7 separate regions of the Homo sapiens genome follow, and all the other regions are linked to region 5. Evidence: promoter capture Hi-C in 16 types of primary human blood cells and fetal thymus (Javierre and others, 2016). All regions are on one chromosome and are shown on one strand. Each heading gives the region's core, a stretch centred on a gene start or on the middle of the fragment in contact. The rest is flanking DNA. Distances are from core to core; before and after follow the strand shown. Region 1 has its middle 52 kb from the start of GRIN3A. Region 2 overlaps LOC105376187 (a long non-coding RNA gene). Region 3 holds the start of RAD23B (RAD23 nucleotide excision repair protein B). Region 4 has its middle 250 kb from the start of GRIN3A. Region 5 holds the start of NIPSNAP3A (nipsnap homolog 3A). Region 6 has its middle 230 kb from the start of GRIN3A. Region 7 overlaps LINC00587 (long intergenic non-protein coding RNA 587).

Region 1 (3,369 bases), core at 1-2,500, 3.0 Mb before region 5:
AAGTGAGGTCACAAGAGTCTATCAAAATATCTTGCAGTGGTCAAAATAGTAAAAGTTGTAATAAATTACTATACATAACTTCACAGTAAAATGTATATTGTTTTCTTTTCATGTAATTCACTGAGGTTTTCAATTTTCTCCATTAATTTTTTCATGAAGTTCCAAGAATCATAAAACAAACAAACAAACAAACAAACAATAAAACAAGACAATACCTATCTGACTCTTCATTTCAATTCTGATCCTCACATTGTGCCAACCAGGAAAGTGGCTTCCTTGCAGAATGTCACTTTAACATGATTTATTTTTATCTGAGGGTGCCACATGTTACACACATTTAACATTACATACCTAGATGTATATGACATGGGATAGTATACTTTGTTTTCACAATGTATCACAATGCTTCCTTGGCCTCTGATGTCTCAGTTCTTTTGTGCTATTCATCTTTTCACATCTAAAATTTTACTACAATACTTAACTTTCTTGATCTTCTCCATTATTATTTTCATAAAATTGTAATTTATGAAACATTTCCATGGTTTACAGAGGAGAATATTTGAAATCACAATTGTCCTGGAAAATGTAGGTTATATGAGCACAATCCCTGCAAAGGATCTGCAACATAGAGTTAAGCATTGATTATATGCTAGCATCTGGGGTTTTAAAAAATGAGAGGACATAGAGGATCCTCAAAGAGTTGCTTGGCTCTATTAGCCTTGGAATTGAGCCATTAGAAATGCTTCACTGCAGCCTAAATTCTGGGCCAGTCATGTGTAAGTGTTGTCATAATTTAAGGAGCCTGGTGAAGCTAACATTTTTTTTCCTTCTTCTCTGCTGGTCCCCTTGGGAATTACCTATATTCTGCAGAAATCAAACCTACATGCAACTGGTTATCTTTATGCACACAAATGGGGTTCATTGACATAGGTTTCCTTAAAAACCCCATCCTTCACCCCCAGACACTTAATAAGAAAGTCCTTTAACCTTAGATACAAGTAGAATTATACGTGTTTCATGAAATTTGTCGTTGTCATTGGATCCTGTCACACAGTGGTTTGGCATGAATGGGGCATATTGGTGTTGAGAGGATGAGAGATGAGGTTGGAGAGTTAATGAGGAACCAAATCAGAAGAGTATGTTATGCTACGCTGGGGCCTGTGAACTTTATCCTGAGGGTAGAAGGGTTCCACTAAGCATTTTATTTCATTGTTTTTAAAAATCAGGGTAATGATATAAGCAGATGCATATTTGGACAGTCAGGATGGATGCAGTGTGAAGAATGGATTGAAGGGGTGGCAGGAGGAGGTGCAGGACAGTGAACTTGAGGAATAAAATGGTGACAAGTTAGAAAAAGGGCAAATGGAGAAGGAAGTATAGAAATTGCCTTGAGGTGGGTGTGCGGAGAAACTGGAGAAGGGAGTAAGAGAAGAAACCTGTATTTCTGGCTTGAGCATTTAGGTATCACTCTCAAAGCAAATAACTCACTTGGGGAAAAGATGATGAATTCATCTGTGGACGCATTGAATTTAGATGTCTGTGAGTCATCAAAAAGTATCTATTTAGACGGTTAGGTATTCATCTCTGGAGCCCATGAGAGATATTTGGATGAGATAAAGATTCGGTATTTATTAGCACATAGATGTTAATTGAATCCACAGTTAACTGAGACAGTATTTACCAAGGAGACGGTGTGGAGTGAGAGGAAAAGAAGTCAACATTTGGTTTGCTAATACAGGGACATATAGAGAAGAAAATCCTGTAATGAGATTGAGATGGAGATGCCAGAGAGTAGGAGGAAAACCAGAAGAGTTCATGTTCATAACCAATGAACTCATTAGAGCTCCCATCATTTGTATGGATCTTGAGTTTCCCAGGCAAGAACAGAGTGGAGAGGTGGATAGTTATTGCCAAGGTCTTTAAAGAAGTAGGAGAAGTAGATTATGTTGACTCATAGCGACTAGGAGAAGAGAGTGTGCTATGACTTGATGGCACATTCTTCACGGTGGTAATAATGAAGAGCTTGCAGCATGAGAAAATGAGAAACTTTTTGAGAGGACTGCAGAAAAAACAGTATTTTGAGAGGAGAAACAAACTTAAAGGCATGAAATGGGTGAAGAAAACAGAGGACTGGATACAGAGGATTTTTTTTACTTAGGATTTGACATAGTGAAAAGTTTGGGATAGAGGGTAGCAATAGGTGACTGTGTTAAGCAAAAGCAGCACAGAATATTGTGGTTGCTGACATGGGAGATGATAGCAAACCAGAAGGTTTTCCTTGGGTACTGTCTAAAGATAGCAGGGATTTGGAGTAGGTGGGTTTATCTGTTGGTAAAGTTGCTAGATAATCAGTCTTGGCTCTAACCTGTATGTGGCTAGAGTTCTTGTGTTTCTTATGGCATTATCTTTGCCCAATAGTCCTAGTCTTTGATAGATGAGTAGGTCTAGAGGTGAGATAAACAGCCCAAGGTCTGGTTTGAGGGCGTGACCTACATGAGGGACGCAATTTTCTCCAGAGTGGCAAATAAATGTTGGGTTCTATGTGCCAACCCTTGAACTACATGGAACACGTTTCATCTCAATTTTCAGATCACAATCTGAGGTCTGAAGCTTTTCTTGTCCCTTAAGTCATAGTTACGTAATCCTTTTAAGTGCTTCTATAGTATCATAAAATTTCCTCATCACAGCACTTGTCAAGATATATTATTTCTAGTTTATATAGCTATATCTTCCACTAAGCCATACTATTTAATGGACATGAATTTTCTCATCCGCTGATATATTTCAAAAATCCAGCACAGTGACTGACATATTTCCACACACACACATACCCACACACGTATATACATATATATTTTTGAAGTATGTGGGTGGAGCTGGAATATCCTGCAGGGAATGCACCTTCTATCTGAGGAACTGTTGTGTGACTGTGCTCAGGGGACATGTTTTACAGTAAGGTGAAAGTTTGCCTGGCTCAGGGTCTAGGGAGATGCATGGAGCAGAGGGGTTGCGGGTCTTGTCAGCAGCTCGCATGGATTATGGTCAAAAGAGGGCAGCAGAGGGTCACAGACGAGAGGTGATTTTAAGTGGTGCAGAAGAGTGGGTGGAAGAGAATACAAAATCAGGAGTGAGAGTTTTGGGTGCCAGGGATAAGGGTGGTGCTCTTTATAGAAGCTAATCCTGTTGGGGGGAGGTTTAGTAAGGAGAGAGCTGGGGAATCCCCAGGTGTAAAGAGGATGCTTAAAGGAAAACTAGAATATTAAAACCAAGGAATGAAGCAACCCTCCGTCCTGCTTGTTATGTAGCAGATATCAGAGTTTGACCTTGAAAGTGTGGTCTGCCATTCATAGGAAGGAGGGATAAAAGATG
Region 2 (3,415 bases), core at 809-3,308, 2.9 Mb before region 5:
CCAATGCCCATATCAGAAAGCTAGAAAGATCTCAAATTGACACCGTAACTTCACAATTAAAAGAGCTGGAGAAGCAAGAGCAAACAAATCCAAAAGCTAGCAGAAGAGAAGAAATAACTAAGATCAGAGCAGAACTGAAGGAGCTGGAGACACAAAAACCCTTCAAAAATCAATAAATCCAGGAGCTAGTTTTTTGAAAAAATTAACAAAATAGACCACTAGCTGGCCAAATAAGAAAAGAGAAGAATCAAATAAAAAATGATAAAGGGGATATCACCACTGACCTCACAGAAATACAAACTACCATCAGAGAAAACTATAAACATCTCTAAGAAAATAAACTAGAAAATCTAGAAGAAATGTATAAATTCCTGGACACATACACCCTCCCAAGACTAAACCAGAAAGAAGTTGAATCCCTGAATAAGCCAATAACAAGTTCTGAAATTGAGGCAGTAATTAATAGCCTACCAACCAAACACAAACAAACAACAACAACAACAACAACAAAAATACAAAATACAAACAAACCCCAGGACCAGGTGGATTCACAGCCGAATTCTACCAGAGGTACAAAGATGAGTTGGTGCCATTCCTTCTGAAACTATTCTAAACAATTGAAAAGGAGGGACTCCTTCATAACTCATTTTATGAGGCCAGAATCATCCTGATACCAAAACCTGGCAGAGACACAACAAAAAAAATAAAACTTCAGGCCAATATCCCTGATGAACATTGATGCAAAAATCCTCAATAAAATACTAGAAAACTACATCAAGCAGCACATCAAAAAGCTTATCTACCGTGATCATGTCAGCTTCATCCTTGGCATGCAAGCCTGGTTGAACATATGCAAATCAATAAATGTAATCCATCACATAAACAGAACCAAAGACAAAAACCACATGATCATCTCAATAAATGTAGAAAAGGCCTTCAATAAAATCCAACATCCTTCATGTTAAAAACTCTCAATAAACTAAGTATTGATGAACTATATCTCAAAATAATAAGAGCCATTTATGACAAACCCACAGTCAATATCATACTGAATGGGCAAAAGCTGGAAGCATTCCATTTGAAAACCAGCACAAGACAAGAATGCCCTCTCTCACCACTCTTATTCAACATCGTATTGGAAGTTCTGGCCTGGGCAATCAGGCAAGAGAAAGAAATAAAGGGTATTCAAATAGGAAGAGAGGAAGTCAAATTGTCTCTGTTTGCAGATGACATGATTCTATATTTAGAATACCCTATCATCTCAGCCCCAAAACTCCTTAAGCTGATAAGCAACCCCAGCAAAGTCTCAGGATACAAAATCGATGTGGAAAAATCACAAGCATTCCTATACACCAACGATAGACAAGCATAGAGCCAAATCATGAATGAACTCCCATTCACAGTTGCTACAAAGATAATAAAATACCTAGGAATAAAGCCAACAAGGGATGTGAAGGACCTCTTCCAGGAGAACTACAAACCACTGCTCAAGGAAATAAGAGAGAACACAAACTAATGGAAAAACATTCTAACCTCATGGATAGGAAGAGTCAATATCATCAAAATGGCCATACTGCTTGAAGTAATTTATAGAGTCAATGCTATTCCCATCAAACTACCATTGACATTCTTCACAGAATTAAAAAAAACTACTTTAAATTTCATATGGAACCAAAAAAAGAGCCTGTATAGCCAAGACAGTCCTAAGCAAAAAGAACAAAGCTGGAGGCATCATTCTACCTGACTTCAAACTGTACTACAAGCCTACAGTAACAAAAACAGCATGGTACTTGTACCAAAACAAACATATAGACCAGTGGAACAGAACAGAACCTCAGAAGTAACACCACACATCTACAACCATCTGATCTTTGACAAACCTGACAAAAACAAGCAATTGGGAAAGAATTCCCTATTTAATAAATGGTCCTGGGAAAACTGGGCTAGCCATATGCAGAAAACAGAAACTGGACCCCTTCCTCAAACCGTATACAAAAATTAACTCAAGGTGGATTAAAGACTTAAATGTAAAACACAAAACCATAAAAGCCCTAGAAGAAAACCTAGGCAATACAATTCATGACATAGTCATGGGCAAAGACTTCATCACTAAAATGCTGAAAGCAATTGTAACAAAAGCCAAAATTAACAAATGGAATCTAATCAAACTAAAGAGCTTCTGCACAGCAAAAGAAACTATCATCAGAGTGAACAGGTAACTTACAGAACGGGAGAAAATTTTTGCAATTTACTCATCTGACAAAGATCTAATTTCCAGTATCTACAAGGAACTTAAACAAATTTACAAGAAAAAAACAGACAACCCCATCAAAAAGTGGTCAAAGGATATGAACAGACACTTCTCAAAAGAAGACATTTATGCGGCCAACAAACATGAAAAAAGCTCACCGTCACTGGTCACTAGAGAAATGCAAATCAAATCCACAAGGAAGTATCATCTCATACCAGTCAGAATGGCAGTTATTAAAAAGTCAAGAAACAATAGATGCTGGCAAGGCTGTGAAGAAATAGGAATGCTTTTACACTGCTGGTGGGAATGTAAATTAGTTCAACCATCGTGGAAGACAGTGTGGTGACTCCTCTAGGATATAGAACCAGAAATACCATTTGACCCAGGAATTGCATTACTAGATATATAGCCAAAGGAATATAAATCATTCTACTATAAAAACACATGCACATATATATTTATTGCAGCACTATTTACAATAGCAAAGACATGGAACCAACCAAATACCCATCAATGATAGACTGGATAAAAAAAATGTGGTACATATACACCATGGAACCCTATGCGGCCATAAAAAGGAATGAGATCATGACCTTTGCCGGGACATGGATGAAGCTGGAAACCATCATCCTCAGCAAACTAACACAGGAACAGAGGACCAAACACCACATTTTCTCACTCATAAGTGGGAGGTGAACAATGAGAACACCTGGATACAGGGAGGGAAGCAATGTACACCGGGGTCAGTCAGGGCATGGGGGTCAAGGGGAGGGAAAGCATTAGGAAAAATGGTTAATGCCTGTGGAGCTTAAAACCTAGATGAAGGGTTGATAGGTGCAGCAAACCACCATGGCATGCGTACACCTGTCTAACAAACCTACCCGTTCAGCACTTGTATCGGGGAACTTAAAGTGAAATAACAAAACAAAAGAAAACATTTTTTTAGGAGCAATTTTCTTCCGTCAGTGCTCTAAAAGATCTGCATTCTGTAGTCCTTCCCTCAAAGAAAGCCTTGCCCTGGACTTGAATGCTAATTATAATCATTACAATATTTTCAGTGTATGTACTTTGAAAGCTTTATGGGAAGGAAATGGAGACCTGCAGTTCTGGATATGGCTGAGTGTGTCTGGTGTGCTGAAGAGAGTCAAAATGAGAGTAATATTG
Region 3 (3,216 bases), core at 570-3,069, 2.5 Mb after region 5:
AGGTTAGTGGAGGGAGAAGCTGGTCAAGGAAAGTTTCTTGAAAACATTAAACCCAAGCTCCTTGAAGCCACTGAAAACCAAGCAGTGACATTGTATTAGTGAGGATGCTGTCCCAGAGAAGTAATTTGTAATTGGTCATAGAGCTAGTGGCCTGACTAGAACTGTGTTTTATACTTGAACTAAATCAAATGTGCCACAGGCACAGTATAAAACAGAGGAGAATAGCTGGGAGCGATGGCTCACATATAATCCCAGCACTTTGGGACTCCGAAGCAGGAGGATTACTTGAGCCCAGGAGTTCAAGACCAGCCCTGGCAACATAGGGAGAACATATCTGTACAAAAAAATAAAATATCAGCTGGGAAGCAGTGGTGTGTGTCTGTGGTCCCAGCTACTCAAGAGGCTGAGGTGGAAGGATCTCTTGAGCTCAGGAGGTTGACGCTGCAGTGAGCCGTGTTTGTGCTACAGCGCTCCAGCGTGGATGACAGTCAGACGCTTTAAAAAAATAAGAATAATCTTTAAAACAAAAAACAGGGGAATAGTGGCACACCCTGGGACACAGACTCTGGAGTCATTCTGTCTGAGGTCACATTGTGGATTTGCCATTTACTACTGGCTGGGTTATTCCAGGTGCATTACTCAACATCTCTGTACTTCAGTTTTCTATCTGTAAACGGACTTTCTACTAATAGCTAACTGCTTACAGACTGTTTATCATGATTTTACATACAATATTCAACTTCCCCCTCCAATAATCAATGAGTGACATTATTATTCTCATTCTACTGCTGAGGATCCAGAAGCACATTCACCCATTCCACAAATATTTACCGTGCACCTGCAATGTGCCAGGCATGTTCATGGGTGAACACAGCAAAATCTTTGCCTCTGTGCAGCTTCAGTCTGGGGTTCACAGGAAAAGGAGAAAGATGATAAACAAGAGATACGTACATTACAGGGTAATTATAAAGGGATACCCGCTATACAAGAAAACAGAGCAGGATAACAGAGATAGGAAGTTGGGATTTTAAGTAAGGCAGCCAGAACAGACCTCACCAAGAAGGCAATATCTGAGCAAGGATGTTAAGGGAGCCGGGGGCAACCTAGAATCCACCAGTGGGGAGAGTAAGGCGACTCGGAGAAAGGCGAGGGGCTAATGCATCCGTTCTAATAACTCTGACTTTAACTCGGGGCTAGATGGGGAAACACTGGACAGTTCTACCCCGAGGTGTGACAGAACTTGACCTTCATTTTAAATCGGTCCATCTGTTTAGGCTAGTGAGAAAAAACAATATTTGAACTCGGGCAGTCCAGCTCAGGAGTCTGTGCTGTCGGGATTAAAGAATCAGTCGACACCCCCAGGGCTGAGCCCCGCAGCAAGCGCCCCGCGGGTGCTGGCCCCCAGACTGTGGTTACCGCCATCCTTTCACTTAAACTCCGCCCCGATTACTCCCCCGCTCCAGGGCTCCGCATCCACTCTGCCGGGTCTCCACGAAGCGCTTCCCGGGCTACACATTGCGTAACTTCGGCAGCCGGGCGGAGCCTGCACAGAGGCGGAGCCGCGGCAGCCGGAGAGAACGCCCCAGCAATAGTCGCTAGGAGGAAGCCCCAGGAGCCCTTGCCGCCCACGGAACGCGCCTGCGTAATCCGGGTCCAGGCCGCCGACATTCCAGGACCGCCTTCCGCCCCGCCCCCAATTCTGGGGCGGAGTCCTCGGCCGCGCCGGCGCAAAGCGTCGCCGCACCCCACGCCTGCGCGCTTCGCCCGCCCGGCCCCATCCCCCCAGGTTTTTCGCGTGGGGGAGGGGGCACGTCTCGGCGAGTCACGATGATGGCGGCCACCATCCTGTGGTGAGCTAGCGGATTCCCTGCTTGTCTCGCCGACCCCCTCGCGCCTTCTGCAGACTCCGTGGCTGGCGCTCGGCGCGTGAGGAAGCACGGCGGCCCGAGTTCGCGGGGAAGGCCGCAGTCGCGGAGGCAGCGGCGCGGTCCGGGGCACGGGCTGGGGGAGAGGCCGCTCCGCTGGGCGAATGTGACAAGCCCCCACCCCCACCGCCTTCCTCCCCAGAGCGCGAGGAGCGCGGGCGACCCCGGGGCCCCGCCAGGCCACAGACCCCGCCCAGCGGCCAGCACCCGGCGCAGGCCCGGCAGCCGAGCTGCGCGGCGGCACCATGCAGGTCACCCTGAAGACCCTCCAGCAGCAGACCTTCAAGATAGACATTGACCCCGAGGAGACGGTATGCGCGCGGGCCGGGGGCAGGGGCAGCCGCGTGCGGGCCGCGGGGAGCGCCAGGAGCTCGTGGGGCCGGGCGGCGCGCTCCAGCGGGGGAAGCCCCGGAGGGCGCGATGAGGGCCCTGGGTCCTGGTGCCGGCCCTGGCGGCGTACAGCGGAGCCGATCCTCCTGTCTTGGCCGTGGGCTTTGTGGCAGGAGAATGGGGAAGCAGTGGCCGGACGCCGAAGGCCTGGTGGCAGATGGCGTGGAGCGCACGCCCGCGGGCCTGGGCCTAGGAGCTCGTGCTAGCGGGGCCGGAGGGGGATGGGAAGGTCCAGGCCGTCTCAGCCGTAGAGCCTGGCTTTCTGGTATGGGTGCACAGGTGGGGGAGGGAGACGTAGGCGTCGCCACTACCCCTGTGTGGACCTGGTTAGCCGCTTAGTTCCCAGAGTTGGTAACCCGAGAAGATGAGCCTTAAGAAAAAAAAAAGTATCAGGTTCCGTTTGCCGCCGAGAGGTGAGTGGTGGTGAAAATGAATTTGCCCCTTTCCCCTCAGAATTGTTTACCCTTTTATTTGCAAATGAATCGTTCTGCTGCCTTCCTCCCGCCACCAAACCCACACCCTTGCGTAGATTGCACTTTGAGGCCTCTTTGGTGATGGTTTTAGCTGTTAGAGCTCTTCACAGCCATCCAGGCTCAAACTAAACTTCAGATTTAACGGGTTTTCTGTGTTAGAAATCTTGGAATTGTAGGAGTTGGAACGCTGCAGCCACCCTCCCCCGATGCCCCAAACAGTAGCAGTTCAAGGGGGAAAAAAGAAAAAAAAAACAAAAAACAACAACTTTGAATCCTTTCTGCAGTTAAAGCCTTAAACATTTCAGAAGTCCACATTATACATTTTTCTGTATTTGTGACTGCATAAAGAGACACTGTTGAGGTCAGTACAACTTTATGCCAAGAATCTAAAAACGCTGTGAGTGTAAATTTACTGCTTATGTTCGGAA
Region 4 (3,079 bases), core at 498-2,997, 2.8 Mb before region 5:
TTTCTTCACTGCTATGCCCTCAAAGGAGAAGGGACTTATCCTGAGGAAAGGGAGAGCTGAGGTGGACCGTTGTAGATAGAGACATCCCGTTGCTGAGACAATGGGAGTGTCGTCCAGCCTCCACACTGGTGTTGAAGCCAAAACGGCACCAACAAATTTAAAGGCAAGGAAAACTTTATTTATTTATTTACATGTTTTTGAGACAGAGCCTCACTCTGTCACCTAGGCTGGAGTGCAGTGGTGCGATCTCAGGTCACTGCAGCCTCCTCTTCCCAGGTTCAATCAATTGTCTTGCCTCAGCATCTTGAGTAGCTGGGACTACAGGGATGCATCAATGCGCCCAGCTAATTTTTGTATTTTTAGTAGAGATGGAGGTTCACCATGTTGACCAGGCTGGTCTTGGTTTCCTGACATCAGGTGATCTGCCCACCTCAGCCTCCCGAAGTGCCGGGATTACAGTCATGGGCCACTGTGCCCAGCCAAAGAAGACTGTATTCAAGACTATTGAAATAGAAGAAAGGGACTGAACTCTTCTTCACTGAAACAAAAGTTAGAAGGGTTTTTAAGCACTTGGATGAGCTGGTGGAAAAGTACTGGTTGACATTAGGGGATAGATTGATCAATGAGATAGTTTGATCACATTTAATTATTCCTGAGTTTGCAAATGTTTTTCTCTGCAAATAGGGCATCTGTGTTTGCTAATTGTTACCCATCAAAGTTAGGTTCCTACCTTCTCAAAGAGACTGAAATATAGTGGTGCCATCTCCTTTGATGTTTACATTTTAAGAGATGGTTCCCAGGTTCTTAAAAAAGACATTTCCTAGACTGTAAAACTGGAAAATAGCTGGGAAGGGATTGACATACATTTCAAAAGGGAAGAGAAAGAATTTACAATTGCAGATTTTCTAAAGTAAATGCTCTAAAAAAAGGAAGGTCAGAGGCTCATTGTCTGGTAGAAATATGTCTAAAGCTTAGTCAAGCTGAGGGGAACTGTTTTTATCATTGGAGTAGTGCTAATGTCTCAAGGAGAGATGACCTCAATAAAGAGTGACTCCCAAAAAGTAGTGCCATGAAAGTTTCTTTAAGAAAGCAGAGACCCAAGGCAGTGCTGAGAGAAGAAGGGCATTTCTTCATACCAAGTCTGCACAGTGATCATTGAAGCAGATAGGAGCAAAGTCTCTGCCAGAGCCAATGAAGAACAAAGTCAATGAAAGATCAATAGGCAGTAATAGCAGAACTGACAACAAAAAGCATTCCTGTAATAGCACCTTTCTGGGAAGTAGATGGGAAGTTTAATTCTCCATTTGGCTAGTGTGGCAGCTGTGGTGCCAAGCGCAGAAAAGTCAGTGGGTGTAATGGAAGGTGGCAACTACTCATAGGTAAATGTGAGCACCCCATGAACCACTCTGGAGTGAAAGGGAAATAGAGTCGTGCATTGCCTAACAACAGTCACATGTTCTGAGCTATGTGTCATTAGACAATTTCATCGTTGTGCAAACATCATAGGGTATACTTACATAAACCTAGATTATATAGCCTACTATCACTTAGGTATGGTGTAGCCTACTGTTCCTAGGCTACAAACCTGTACAGCATGTCACTGTACTGAATACTATAGGCAATTGAACTGTTACATCAAGTTTAGCCTTAAACTGCCTCCTTACATAGTTAAGTTTGGCCTAAAGTTTTTCGTGTACATCATGAACTATATAACAAGTGGAGGGGTAAACCAACCATAGCCCACACCTGTGCCAATCACTGAGTTTTGGGCAATCAAATGTAGCCAACTGTTCAAACCGTGTTCAAAGAAGGCAAACACCAAGATGTAATCAATCCAGTTGTTTCTGTACCACACTTCCAATTTCTATATGTCACTTCCCTTTTTTTTTTGTCTATAAATCTTTTTCCTCAATGTGGCTGCATGGAAGTCTCTCTGAATCTGCTGTGTTTCTGGGGGATGCCTGGTTAGCGAATTGTTCATTGCTCAATTAAACTTCCTTAAATTTAATTCGGCTGAAGTTTTTCCTCTAACAGAACACAATGGTAAATATCTGTATATCTAAACATAAAGAAGGTAGAAGGATGGTAACCATAGGCTGGGAAGCATGGTTAGGGGGTTGGCGGGGAGGTGGGGATGGTTAATGGGTACAAAGAAAATAGAGAAAATGAATAAGACCCACTATTTGATAGCACAACAGGGTGACTACAGTCAATAATAACTTAATTGTACTCTTTTTTTGAGCCAAGTTTCATTCTTGTCACCCAGGCTGGAGTGCAATGGTGTGATCTCGGCTCATCACGGCCTCTGCCTCTGGGGTTCAAGTGATTCTCCCGCCTCAGCCTCCTGAGTAGCTGGGATTATGGTTGCCCGCCACCATGCCTGGCTAATTTTTATATTTTTAATAGAGATGGGATTTCATCATGTTGGCCAGGCTGGTCTCGAACTCCTGACCTCAGGTGATCCACCCACCTTGGTTTTAAAGTAACTTGGAATGTAATTAGATTGTTTGTAACTCAAGGGATAAAAGCTTGAGGAAATGAATACCCTATCCTCCATTATGTGCTTATTTCACATTGCATGTCTGTGTCAAAACACCTCATGTATCCCATAAATATACACACCCATTATGTACCCACTAAATTTTAAAAAAATGAAAATATATTAGAAAAGGTACAGTAAAAATGTGGTATTTTAATCTTATTGGATAACCATTGTATATATAGTCTCTCCTTAACAGAAATACCCTTATGTGGGATATGACTGTATTTGGAAGTGGTTATGGTTTTAGTGACATTGTAGGGGGAAATGATCCTAGGAATTTGTCTTCTTTTATTTCTGATTCTGTAGTATCTTTCCAACTGATGTAGTTTTGGAAGTAGCATACTTAATTAAAAATAATATGTTGTCTTCATTATTCAAATGGAAATTTCAGTTTCAGTTTTGCTACTTACTACCTATGTTATCTTGAGCAAGTTCCTTAAATTCCTTATGCTTGAATTTTTGCTTCTGAAAAAATAAAAATAGAAATCCTGTGCAAGATTGGTATAATGTTTAAATGTATAAAAAGCACAAAGCATG
Region 5 (3,351 bases), core at 702-3,201:
ATGGATGCAGTTAATGATGAGACTAGGGAATGGCAAAGCCACCGGGTAGAAGCCTGGCTCCCTAATTCACTAAGTATAGAAGAGCTACCTGCCAACTAGAAAAACCCACTTTGTATTCTTATAAAAAATAAACTCCTATAGTGTTTGAGTAATAATACACTTTTTTGAGTGTTGATTTACAAGAGCTATTTAATCTACCCTAATTAATATATTATTGAAAGATACTACCAAATGCTGAGTGTTCTGGCCTTCTTCCCTCCTCAGCCTCAGGAAACTGGCAGCAAGGCTTTTCTCACACAGATAAGATACTGGAAGTTTCCCTTCCCTAACACTGACTACACAGATAAATAACTTGCAGATAACAGTTTGGGGGGAGGGGATACAGCCTTCAGTGAAATACCCAGGTCAGATCACCTCACAGTGAAGCCCACTATTTGAAGAGATTCACCTGTGCTTACAGTGCTTTTAACATGTTTTTCTCACTCCAAAATATATTTTTAATGTAAACATCAATAAACGCAGGAAGGAAAGTGTATTTTGAGGGAGTGGTATGAAGAAACCTAAATCCTAAATATCCAAGTCAATAGCTAGAATCCTGACCACTTTTAGAATTCCACTAGCACCTTTATTCGTATCTTACTTTATTTTTCTTTATATTATTTGACAATCCCTGATATATTTACTCTTCCTTTTTTTATCTGTTTCCTCCATCCTGGATGTTCCAAGAGGACGGGACTTTGAATTTTGCTCAATTCTGTACCCCAGTTTCTGGAAAAGTGCCTGGAACATGGAAGGAATTTAGTAAATATCTGTTGAATAAGTAAATGGATTGGCAATTACAGGGTTTAAAAAAAAAGGTCTAAGAAAATAATTTACTCATATAGATCCAGTCCTGATACAAATGATTTTTTTAGTCTTGCATGGTTACAAATAGATGTCTCTCTTCTAGAAAAACTGAGGCAACCCTTCCGAAATAACTAATTTTAAAAAGTCTCCCTTCCTTTGAACAGACAATTCCAAAGCTCTTCCACAAGGCACAACCAATACAACCCAGGTCATGGCCCTGCAATCCCTCCCTAGTCCTCATGATGTAAGCAATATTACATTAATGTTTACAATAATGTAATTATTAGCAAGAATAATGTAAACATTAATATAGATTACTGTAAATTAATAGTGTAATTAATTACTGTAAATTAACATAAGCATTATTAGATGCAGGAAGACAAGTGAATTTGGGGGCAGTGGCATCTATGAGACATAAATCCTCATCTGCCACAGAAGGAAGTCAACACATACTATCCATAACTGAAAATGCAATAAACAGCAGAAAACACTACTTACTTAAAAATACAGAAACAAGCATTAAATGAAACAGCTTGAAATGTTGAAGGTGGTTACTCTGGGAACCAACACTCCCGGACTGGGAGGACTAGACCAGGGTATGTTTAACTTTGACTTTTTCATTTCAGGCTCGATGCTGCCATTTCTCTGAGCTCGTGGAAAATTTAATCTAAATCTTAATTAGGAGCCTTCTAAGATGGAGAACACATTCATTGCAGAGAGGTCAGGCTCAAATACACGTCTATCACAACATCTAAAACTTAACTCGGAAAAAACCTCCACGATTTTAAATACAAAGCACTGCACATGCACGCACTCAACACCTCTCCTTCTTTCCCCATGGTCAACACACCCACAACCCCTGCACATTTACCAATCTACACAACTGAGCACTGGAGCGAATGAGGTGAGTGAGGGCCCAGAAAGTTGAAGCAGGAACGATCCGAGCCTTCAGTTAATCCTAACGTCACCTCTAACGTTTGGGGTAAGAACGTTTCAGGAAACCAAGGGGGAACCAACGCTCAGCACAGCAGAGAAAGACACCAAGCTACGGGACCCGCCGCGCCTCCCGCGCCGGGGTGGAGCTGACCCCGCCGAGCCCCGCCCCAGCCTGCGTCTGCCAATGATCCAGGAGCCGCTCCTTTCCACTCGGGAAACCTTCAGAGGAGTCTCAGAAAGGACACGGCTGGCTGCTTTTCTCAGCGCCGAAGCCGCGCCATGCTCGTCCTCAGAAGCGCCCTGACTCGGGCGCTGGCCTCACGGACGCTGGCGCCTCAGGTACCGGCCACGGGGGTACCCAAGCCTTCACCCGACGGGAGGGGAGGGGCGGGGCGGGGAGTGTTCCGGGTACGTGCGAGCAATGCGCATGCGCTCTCCGCCACGCGCGCCCAGACCTGGGGCCCCGGTGAGGTTCTAGCGTGAGCCCCGGAACCCCAAGACAGGGGTACCCGGAACGCGCGTGAGGAGGAGGCCGCTGCTAGGGGAATACCCCCAGCCGGGGTCGTCTCGCGGGCAGTGGTGGTCAGAAGGCTTTTCTAGCCTGGATGCCACACCCACCGGGACACTCCCATGGCGCCGGCTGTTTCGTTTTTGCTGCCCAGCTATGTCGCGGCTGCGGCCCAGCGAGCGCTCCCATGTTGTCACCTGGCGCTGTGGAGCCGCGGGTGGAGTCGTAGCTTTCCAAGCCACCGCCCTCTCTAGACATCAGGTTGAAGGAGGGAATTGTCAACCAGCCGCTTGCCACGGAACCGGCCTCCCCCTTTTAAATGAAGCACACAACTTCCGAGCATTTCGCGGAGACCCTTGAAGAGGAGGCCCAGGGTCCCGGTGGGGCTGGACCCTGCCCGCCACCCGCGCTTCGTGTGGTCGCTCCCCCAACCAGGCGGGACCGGAGCCTCCTATCAAACCGGACGATGACAGACAGACTCTTTTAACCTTAGATGAGAAATGGACAAAATGGAGCTTGTGATTCTGCCCTAACTTTCGGGAGTGGCCTATTCTGTGGCTTCAACCTAGAAATTTCTTTTCCTTTTGATGTTTAGGACTTTACTCCTTTCTGAAGGGGCAGGATGGGAAGGGGATTAACCTGTCCTAGAGACAGACTGAGGAGCACTAAAGAAGAGCAGCTCATGTCCATTCACCCCGGGTTAACAATGCAGTTTTTACCCTAATGATTCTCCAGTGGGGCAGGGCCAGGAATGACGTCCTTATGGCATGATTCCAAACTTTAAGTTTTTAGAAATGTCCATCAGTTGTTCTCTTTTAAGTGAAGTGGAGGTCGTTGCTGGTGGGAATGATCCCTAACTTGGAGATAAGGGAGGATGGACGACTCATGATTTCTGCCCTAGCAGCTAAAAGTCATCCCTGCAACAAAATTCTTAACTCCCATCCGGCTCCCCCACCATACCCGGCTCCCCTGCAGTCTTCCTTCTCTGGCACCACCTGTCCACATCTCTCTCCCTCTCTCACTGTAGGTTCCCTACTGTATATTAATACTGCCCAAAATTG
Region 6 (3,528 bases), core at 1,007-3,506, 2.8 Mb before region 5:
CTTGTTAGCAAAGCTATTTGGGCCTGGAAGGGGAAATTTTTAACAACAAATTAGATTTCTTTAATAGGTATAGGGCTATCTAGATGATCAGTTCTTCTTGAATGAGTTTGATAGTTTGTGTCTTTTAGCAAATGTGCCATTATATCTAAGTTAAAATGGCATAAAGTAGTTCAAAGTATTTATTTATCTTAATTTTTGAAGAGCCTGTAGTGATGCAACATTTGTTCTTCCTGATATTGGTAACTTCTCTTATGCCCATTTTTCTTCATCTGTGTGCCTTCAGGTTATCAATTTTATTGATATTCTCAAACAGCCAGCTATTTTTTCTCTATTGTTTTCCTGTTTTCTACTTTATTTATATTCAATCTGAAATTTTCAACTACTTTTCTTCTGCTTCTGTGGGTTTAATTTGCTCTTCATTTCTTGGTCCTCAATGTAACAGCTGAGTTTTCTTTTTATTTGGAACTTTTCATATTTCCTAATTTAGGCATTTATTGCTATAAGTTTTCCTATTTGCTTTACTACTTTAGTGGCATCTCACAAATTTTGATACACATTTATATTTTATTTAGTTCAAAATACTTTATAATTTTGTCCTTGCTTTCTACTTTGACCCATGAGTTGTTGAGTATATAATTTAATTTCCAAATATTGGTAAATCTTCAGAAATCTTTTCATAATTGATTTTTTTATTTTTTTAATTTCATTGCAATCAGAGAACATAATTTATGTTACTTGAATAATTTTAATTTTATTGAGACTTGTTTTATGGCTCTAAATGTGATTTATGTTATCTATCATTTATTGGGCAACAACTGTTTGCCTGACATTGTGCTAGGTAGTGGGATTATACTGATAGGAAAATAAAACGCTACTGTATTTTATAGTCTAATAATAGAAATAAATGCAGTTTTTCTTCCTTTCTAATAATGAGTACTTTGTTATATAATGTTAATATCTACCTGTGTATAGATATAGATACGTTTTTGTCAAGTTGTTGGAATTCTGAAAATAAATTAAAATACTTCATTTTAACAGCCACAGTGCTAGCATATTTACTTCTTCTCCTTTCCTTGACCTGAATTAGTAATGTGTTTAAAAATATATTAATTGATATACAACTTTATAGTTTCATCAGCTATCTTTTTTGTGTGTGCTTGATAAGATAAAAAATAATATTTCAGGAGCTCAGGTGGGAAGATCTTGACAAAAACAAATTTTTAAAAAAATTTTTCGTCTTAGAATTCAAAGTACGTAGCATATATAGATATAATTCAAGACTAATGGGTATTATTAGATATCTACTAAATGTGCTATAAGGGACAGAGAAAGAAAAATCAGAGAAAGTTTTATAATCAAGATAACAATTGCCTTCGGCCCAGAGAGCAAAAGATACTAATAAGTGCTTTTTAAAACAGAGAGTTGCTTAAATCATAGATGTAATAAGCACAGCCTTAGAATAAAATATATTTATGGTCCTGGCTGTATTAATTAATAACTATGTGATATTGGACAAGTTTTTAACGTCTCTGAGCCTCATTTTGCACATTTTAAAAATTGGGAAATAACATCCATCTTTCAGAAGTGTTGTGAAATGTAATAATGCTACATTTAAAGCATTTGAAATAGTGTTTGTCTTATAGGCACTCAATAAAAATTAGCATTTGCATGTGTATGATGTCAGAGTTGTATTCTAGTAAGCTTAATCTTCATGCAATATATGAGATTGCTTGGTGGTCGAGTAGGTAGGAGAAGTCAGGATAGGGGAAAATTACAAAGCTTAGGAAAAAAAATTATGACATAAAAATGGCGAATAAATAGAAAACAAGTGGATAAGCAGAACCCCCCAGAGGCAGTGTTAGCCTGTTGCTGAGGTCCTACTATGTTCCAAGCACGCTACATGTAGCAGTCTGGGTCCAATCAGAAGACAGAAACCGTATAGTAAGTTAGACAGGAAAGTTTAATATAACAATCTTTAACTATGATAAAAGAGTAACTATGAGATATAAGAAAGCCCTATGTATTGACACCATAAAGCTGCAGGAGAGTACCTAGGGAAGTACAAACTTGGAAGAGGTTCAGACTTTGCTGGAAACGGTGTGGTTTAGTCTACAAGTTAGCAGAGAAGTTGATTGATTTGGCTGGGTTGGTCTGGAGTTGTTGGGTGGAAAATAGGCAATACTCCAGAATCCAGGTGGTGTTGCAGGTGACCAGAAATTGGTGGTATAGGTGTGCAGTGGAAACCTAGGCGTTAGTGGAGGCAAAAGGTCTTTATAGCATATGGGTCATGTGGGAGTATGTAGGTGCCAGCTGAGCCAGGAGGCCTTGAGATTATGTCCTCTGCCTGGGAGCTCTGCTTTCTATGTGTTATCAAAAGGCTGAGGCTGCCAGGTTGTGGAGGATTGTGTTTTGGGTGTATGGCTGAGCAGTGTTCCATAGGATGTCCTTACATCCACACCACTTAGCCCCTGCCCACATTGGAAAATGCAGAAGAGGCTCTTCCTTCTGTTATGTCCCTCAAGCAGCCTCTGCGGGAGCTTAACATCATGTTCACTTTAAAGGGGAGATGCTTAAGGAACTCCAGTGCTTATCACAGTGTATATATTAAAGAGGGCATATGGAGTGGAGAGGAAATAAGTTGCTAATTGACACCCTACCACACGATGATACAATGTTGAGCAAGATAGGATTTTGTATTAGACTTTATGGTTGAGGAAAGTGAACCTATACTGAGAAAGCTTTTGAGTGACCGGTCATCCATATGAGTTCCTGCATTTTTTTTTTTTACCACTATGAGGAAAAGGAAAAGCAAATGAAAATAATATCACAGAGAAATTTCTTGGTAGGACATTTCTTAATTTTAGAAAGCCGGGATGTTCTTGAAGCCACGATTTTTTAAAAGATGTCTTTTTTTTCTCTTCTCCAGAAAACTTCCTTAATCATGGTAAAAAAAACAAAACAAAACAAAAACAAAAAAACACCAAAAATTTCTTACTCTGGGAGAAAAAATGGTTCTCCTCACATTAAAATTCCAAGTTGCTCAAAGGGCATGATCCTGATTAGATTTTAAAAGGGGTAGGACTGTTTTCTCCCTGGGTGAATTTTGTACTTCTCTCCACCTCCATATCATAAATATAGGACTGCATTTTAATCTTCAGGTCATATCCTATTTTAAAATGTGAAAGTAAAAATGGTACTTTAAAATTGTTAAGAAATATGCTTGTTTAGATTCGATGTATCTTTTGGGGTATGAAAAGGAGACTTTAAAACATTTCTGAGAAAGGTGGCAGTTCAAGGCTTATGAAGCCATCCATAGAAAGAACTAGCTTACAATCAGACTTGAAGTCTGAACAAAGGCTTTGCTATTTTTAGGATCCTTTACTCCATTTAGTGGCAGGAATGGAAGCTGGGGGGAACACTATGGGTGGATCATGAGCTGCTCCACACAGAGATTAGCTCCCAGAAGGCTGCATTGACTGGAACAATTTTGTTATAAATGTAAGGAGATGTTTGAGAGCATGCTAGAGA
Region 7 (3,359 bases), core at 743-3,242, 2.1 Mb before region 5:
AAAAGGTAATAACTGTGATTTGTGTTAATTTGATTGCAGAAAAATTGAAACCTTTTTACACTGTTGGTAGGAATGTAAAATGGCAGAGTAGCTATGGAAATAAGTATGGAATTCCCTCATAAAATTAAAATAGTATTATTATGTGATCTAACAATCCCTGGATATATATATATATCCAAAACAATTTAAATCAGGATCTCAAAGAGGTATGTTCACTGCCATTTGTCAGGCCTCTGAGAAATGTCCCAGAGAAACAAAAAATTAGTGAAGTCAAGAATTAACAGTAAGTTTGAATGCTGACAAGCCATTAATAAAACAAAGTTGTAGGCCTAAATTAACCCACAGTATGACTGGTCTGCAATGGAAGAGAATAAGATATAATGTGTCTTTGTCCATTGTGTGTTGCTGTAACACAGTACCTGAGCCTGGGTAATTTATAATGAAAAGAAATTTATTTAGCTCATGGTTTGACAGTCTGGGAAGTTCAAAAGCATGTCCCTCACTTCTGGTGAGGGTTTCTGTGCTGCATTGTAACATGACAGATAAGGTCAGAGAAGTGAACAAATGTAAAGAAAGAGGACCGAACAGAAGGAGGAATCTTGCTTTTTAACAATGCACTTTTATGGAAATTAATCTGCTCCTAAGAGAACTAATCTTTTCTCTCCAGAGTAAGAACTCACTTACTGTAAGAACACACCAAGCCACTCATGCAGGATTCACCTCCATGATTCAAATACCTTCCACTAGGCCCCACCTCCCAACACCACCAGGTTGGGAATTAAATTTGAACATGAGCTTTGGTGTGGCAAACTCAAACCACAGCAGATGAGATAGGAAGAAAACTCTGCTAGAGTGTTTGTAAGTTTGATAAAATTACAGCTACTATAGTATAACCCAAATGAGGTGAACGGAATTGTTCTTTGTTCGTGATCTCAGTTGATGAGCCAATAATCACAAAAAGAAAATATTTCTGATGTGTAGGGTAGAGTTATAAGCATAGGGATCATATGAGGTCTCTAGACAGTTTTAATTTCTGAAAATTAATAGGATATGGCTCTAATTTTGCTAAGCAAAAAAAGAAAAAAACTTTGTGAATTAACACCTTTTGTCACACCTATGCAAATAAAATTGATCAAATAAAGTATAAAATTGATGATTTTTATATACAAAATTACAGAACAAACTTACGGGATTAAATCTATGTTTTAGGGACAGAAACTTGAAAAGTAGAGAACGTGGGAACAAAACTAACACATTTTCTGCCAACATTAGGAATAAGTGTGAATAGCATATCCCTTGGTAGTAGGTGGATAGGGTGCACTTTACATTCTGAGATATTCCAAACATAACAGGTTTTTTTTTTTTTTTCCAGCTCCCAAACTCAGTTGATTTCTGAGCCTTTCCTATAACGTTATTGACTCTCCAAGGAAAGTATTTTATCACTGACTTTTTAAATGCTGATATCTGAAGACATATCACCTCCTCTGAAAATATAATAATGATCAGGTTTTGTTTATGAGTTAGGGTTTTACTTGTTGCTCAGGCTGCGGTACAGTGGGATGATCACAGCTTACTGCAACCTCAAACTCCTGAGTTCAAGTGACCCTCCTGCCTTAGCCTTCTGAGTAGCTGGGATTATAGGAGTTTATCATCACTCCCAGCTCCCATAAGAATTTTTTTCAAACTTGAATAGACTAACAGCAAGCTTTATAATTTTGGTAATAATGTGTTTTTTAAAACATTGAAACACATCTTGTGTTTTCTATTTCATTATTTAGTCCTTCTAAGTCTGACAATCTTGCATTTCTTGAAAACAAACTTCTAAATTCTTTTTCTCTTAGTTATTTCTTCACTCAAAGCTAATCAGAGATTTTTCCCTGAGGTTTTTCAGAGGAGGTGAAGCCGAGAATGTGTGAGTCCAGAAATAACTAATTTCATGTTTCCAGCCTCATAGTTTTCACAGAATTGAGACAATTGCATTCAGTCCCAGATTCCTCACTTCCACTCTACTGATCCTTTAATATAATCCTATCTTCTTTTAACTTAAATTAGTTCAAATTTGTTTTGTCTTTTACAACTTAGAGTACGCTTACTAATCAAACAATATAGTATATTCACAACCCTATGAAATGTTCAGAGGGTCAAAAAGCAGTGGTAGAGAGAGGGTCCGAAGAAGCTAGTTGGATCTTGTGGTCACTGGATGAAGTAACAAAACTAAACCAATTTTACTAAGGATGAGGGTTGTCACTAAAGACCCACATGTAATTATTATTTAAATAGAAGCTTCACAGTTAATATGATCAACTTCTATTTCCCTTTGTAAATTCAGCATGGCAACTGTCAATCTATCCTATTATGAGACACATACTGTTAAAAACACAGTTCTGAGTCAAGTGATTGATTTTTAGATATAATTTTATTTTGTGACAGTCCTGGATAGAGAGATACAAGATTTTGCCTGATTGGATTACTTTCCACCTGATGGGTTTTTTTTGTTTGTTTGTTTTGAAGTGATGATTTAGCTGCATACCTGGGCATTCAAGTCCAGTTTCCAATCTTCTCTTGACAACAGCTTCATATTATATTTAGGAATCTCAGACTGATGTCCCCAACATGTGTGCTAATTGCACATGTTTTGCAACTTTCACTGTATTGTATGATTTGCATTATGGTTCATTAGTCTCCTCTACAATTTGACTTGGTCCTAAATTAGCCATTAAACGTAGCTGACTGCCTTAACTACTGTCATTATCGATTTGCCTGTCTTATTTTTACTAGATTGATATTCACTATGTTTAATTTGCCTAAGTTTTTTTCTTCTCATTAAATCAATTCTCCTAGTTGTTCATAACAGTGAGGCATATGGGAAACAAAATTCCAATATGCTTCTTTTGTCTTAAGCTCATTTTAGTCAGATCTTACCTGGGGAGAATTTCCAGCTGTTATATACAGCTTTAAAAGGTAGGGATATTTATCTAACAGTTGAGGAGAATAGCAATTTGGGAAATACATCAATGATTGACATGGGTAAAAGAGAGAAAACATAATACCTTTAAATTCATTAAAAATATAGTCTTTATTGTTTTTTCATATTAGTGAAAATAAATTCATTTTAGAATAGAAATACCAGTACAGACCTCTTTTTCTGGCCATTTACATCCTAATAGAGTATTTCCCAACTTTCCAAATGTATTTATACTTTAAAATTTTATTATTGAATGTTTTTCTTTGCTGATATTTCATCTTTTAGAAGTAAGACAAAAACCAGTTAATTGTCTAAGTAGTTAGCTCTTAGATGCCTGTGTGGATCCACGGTTTTGTAATCCCCCTCCTCCTTAAAAAGAGAGAGGAGAATAGTA

What was found. Contacts are between HindIII fragments. The CHiCAGO score rates a contact against its expected background, and 5 or more counts as called.
Region 1: a contact is called between a fragment that was not itself captured here and the fragment with the promoter of NIPSNAP3A in region 5, in 3 of 17 cell types (naive CD8 T cells, erythroblasts and fetal thymus). The highest score is 9.4, in naive CD8 T cells.
Region 2: a contact is called between a fragment that was not itself captured here and the fragment with the promoter of NIPSNAP3A in region 5, in 1 of 17 cell types (erythroblasts). The highest score is 7.4, in erythroblasts.
Region 3: a contact is called between the fragment with the promoter of RAD23B here and the fragment with the promoter of NIPSNAP3A in region 5, in 3 of 17 cell types (non-activated CD4 T cells, activated CD4 T cells and total CD8 T cells). The highest score is 16.7, in non-activated CD4 T cells.
Region 4: a contact is called between a fragment that was not itself captured here and the fragment with the promoter of NIPSNAP3A in region 5, in 13 of 17 cell types (naive B cells, naive CD8 T cells, M2 macrophages and 10 more). The highest score is 16.0, in naive B cells.
Region 6: a fragment that was not itself captured here is called in contact with the fragment with the promoter of NIPSNAP3A in region 5 in 12 of 17 cell types (naive CD4 T cells, total B cells, M2 macrophages and 9 more); the score reaches 16.8 in naive CD4 T cells.
Region 7: a contact is called between a fragment that was not itself captured here and the fragment with the promoter of NIPSNAP3A in region 5, in 3 of 17 cell types (M2 macrophages, M1 macrophages and M0 macrophages). The highest score is 14.3, in M2 macrophages.

The regions. Positions count from the first base shown.
Region 1 is chr9:101,789,087-101,792,455 of GRCh38, forward strand. No RefSeq gene overlaps it. Among named protein-coding and RNA genes, the nearest start is that of GRIN3A, 52 kb to the left of the region's middle. The HindIII fragment of the contact is 2,716 bases long and covers 1-2,608 here.
Region 2 is chr9:101,836,782-101,840,196 of GRCh38, forward strand. All of the region lies in intron 1 of LOC105376187 (a long non-coding RNA gene), which reads right to left. Among named protein-coding and RNA genes, the nearest start is that of GRIN3A, 100 kb to the left of the region's middle. The HindIII fragment of the contact is 2,532 bases long and covers 793-3,324 here.
Region 3 is chr9:107,281,460-107,284,675 of GRCh38, forward strand. It overlaps RAD23B (RAD23 nucleotide excision repair protein B), which reads left to right and starts at 1,820. Exons shown (of 10, transcript NM_002874.5): 1 at 1,820-2,236. The coding sequence starts at 2,171. RefSeq lists an enhancer at 1,149-1,308 and a silencer at 1,799-2,358. The HindIII fragment of the contact is 9,258 bases long and covers 1-3,216 here.
Region 4 is chr9:101,983,282-101,986,360 of GRCh38, forward strand. No RefSeq gene overlaps it. Among named protein-coding and RNA genes, the nearest start is that of GRIN3A, 250 kb to the left of the region's middle. The HindIII fragment of the contact is 1,558 bases long and covers 969-2,526 here.
Region 5 is chr9:104,745,732-104,749,082 of GRCh38, forward strand. NIPSNAP3A (nipsnap homolog 3A) reads left to right here and starts at 1,952. Exons shown (of 6, transcript NM_015469.3): 1 at 1,952-2,121. The coding sequence starts at 2,062. It overlaps LOC107987105 (a long non-coding RNA gene), which reads right to left and starts at 1,908. Exons shown (of 5, transcript XR_007061705.1): 1 at 1,718-1,908. RefSeq lists a silencer at 1,846-1,935 and an enhancer at 2,356-2,515. The HindIII fragment of the contact is 7,745 bases long and covers 1-3,351 here.
Region 6 is chr9:101,963,147-101,966,674 of GRCh38, forward strand. No RefSeq gene overlaps it. Among named protein-coding and RNA genes, the nearest start is that of GRIN3A, 230 kb to the left of the region's middle. The HindIII fragment of the contact is 959 bases long and covers 1,778-2,736 here.
Region 7 is chr9:102,635,140-102,638,498 of GRCh38, forward strand. All of the region lies in intron 3 of LINC00587 (long intergenic non-protein coding RNA 587), which reads left to right. Among named protein-coding and RNA genes, the nearest start is that of LINC00587, 120 kb to the left of the region's middle. The HindIII fragment of the contact is 578 bases long and covers 1,704-2,281 here.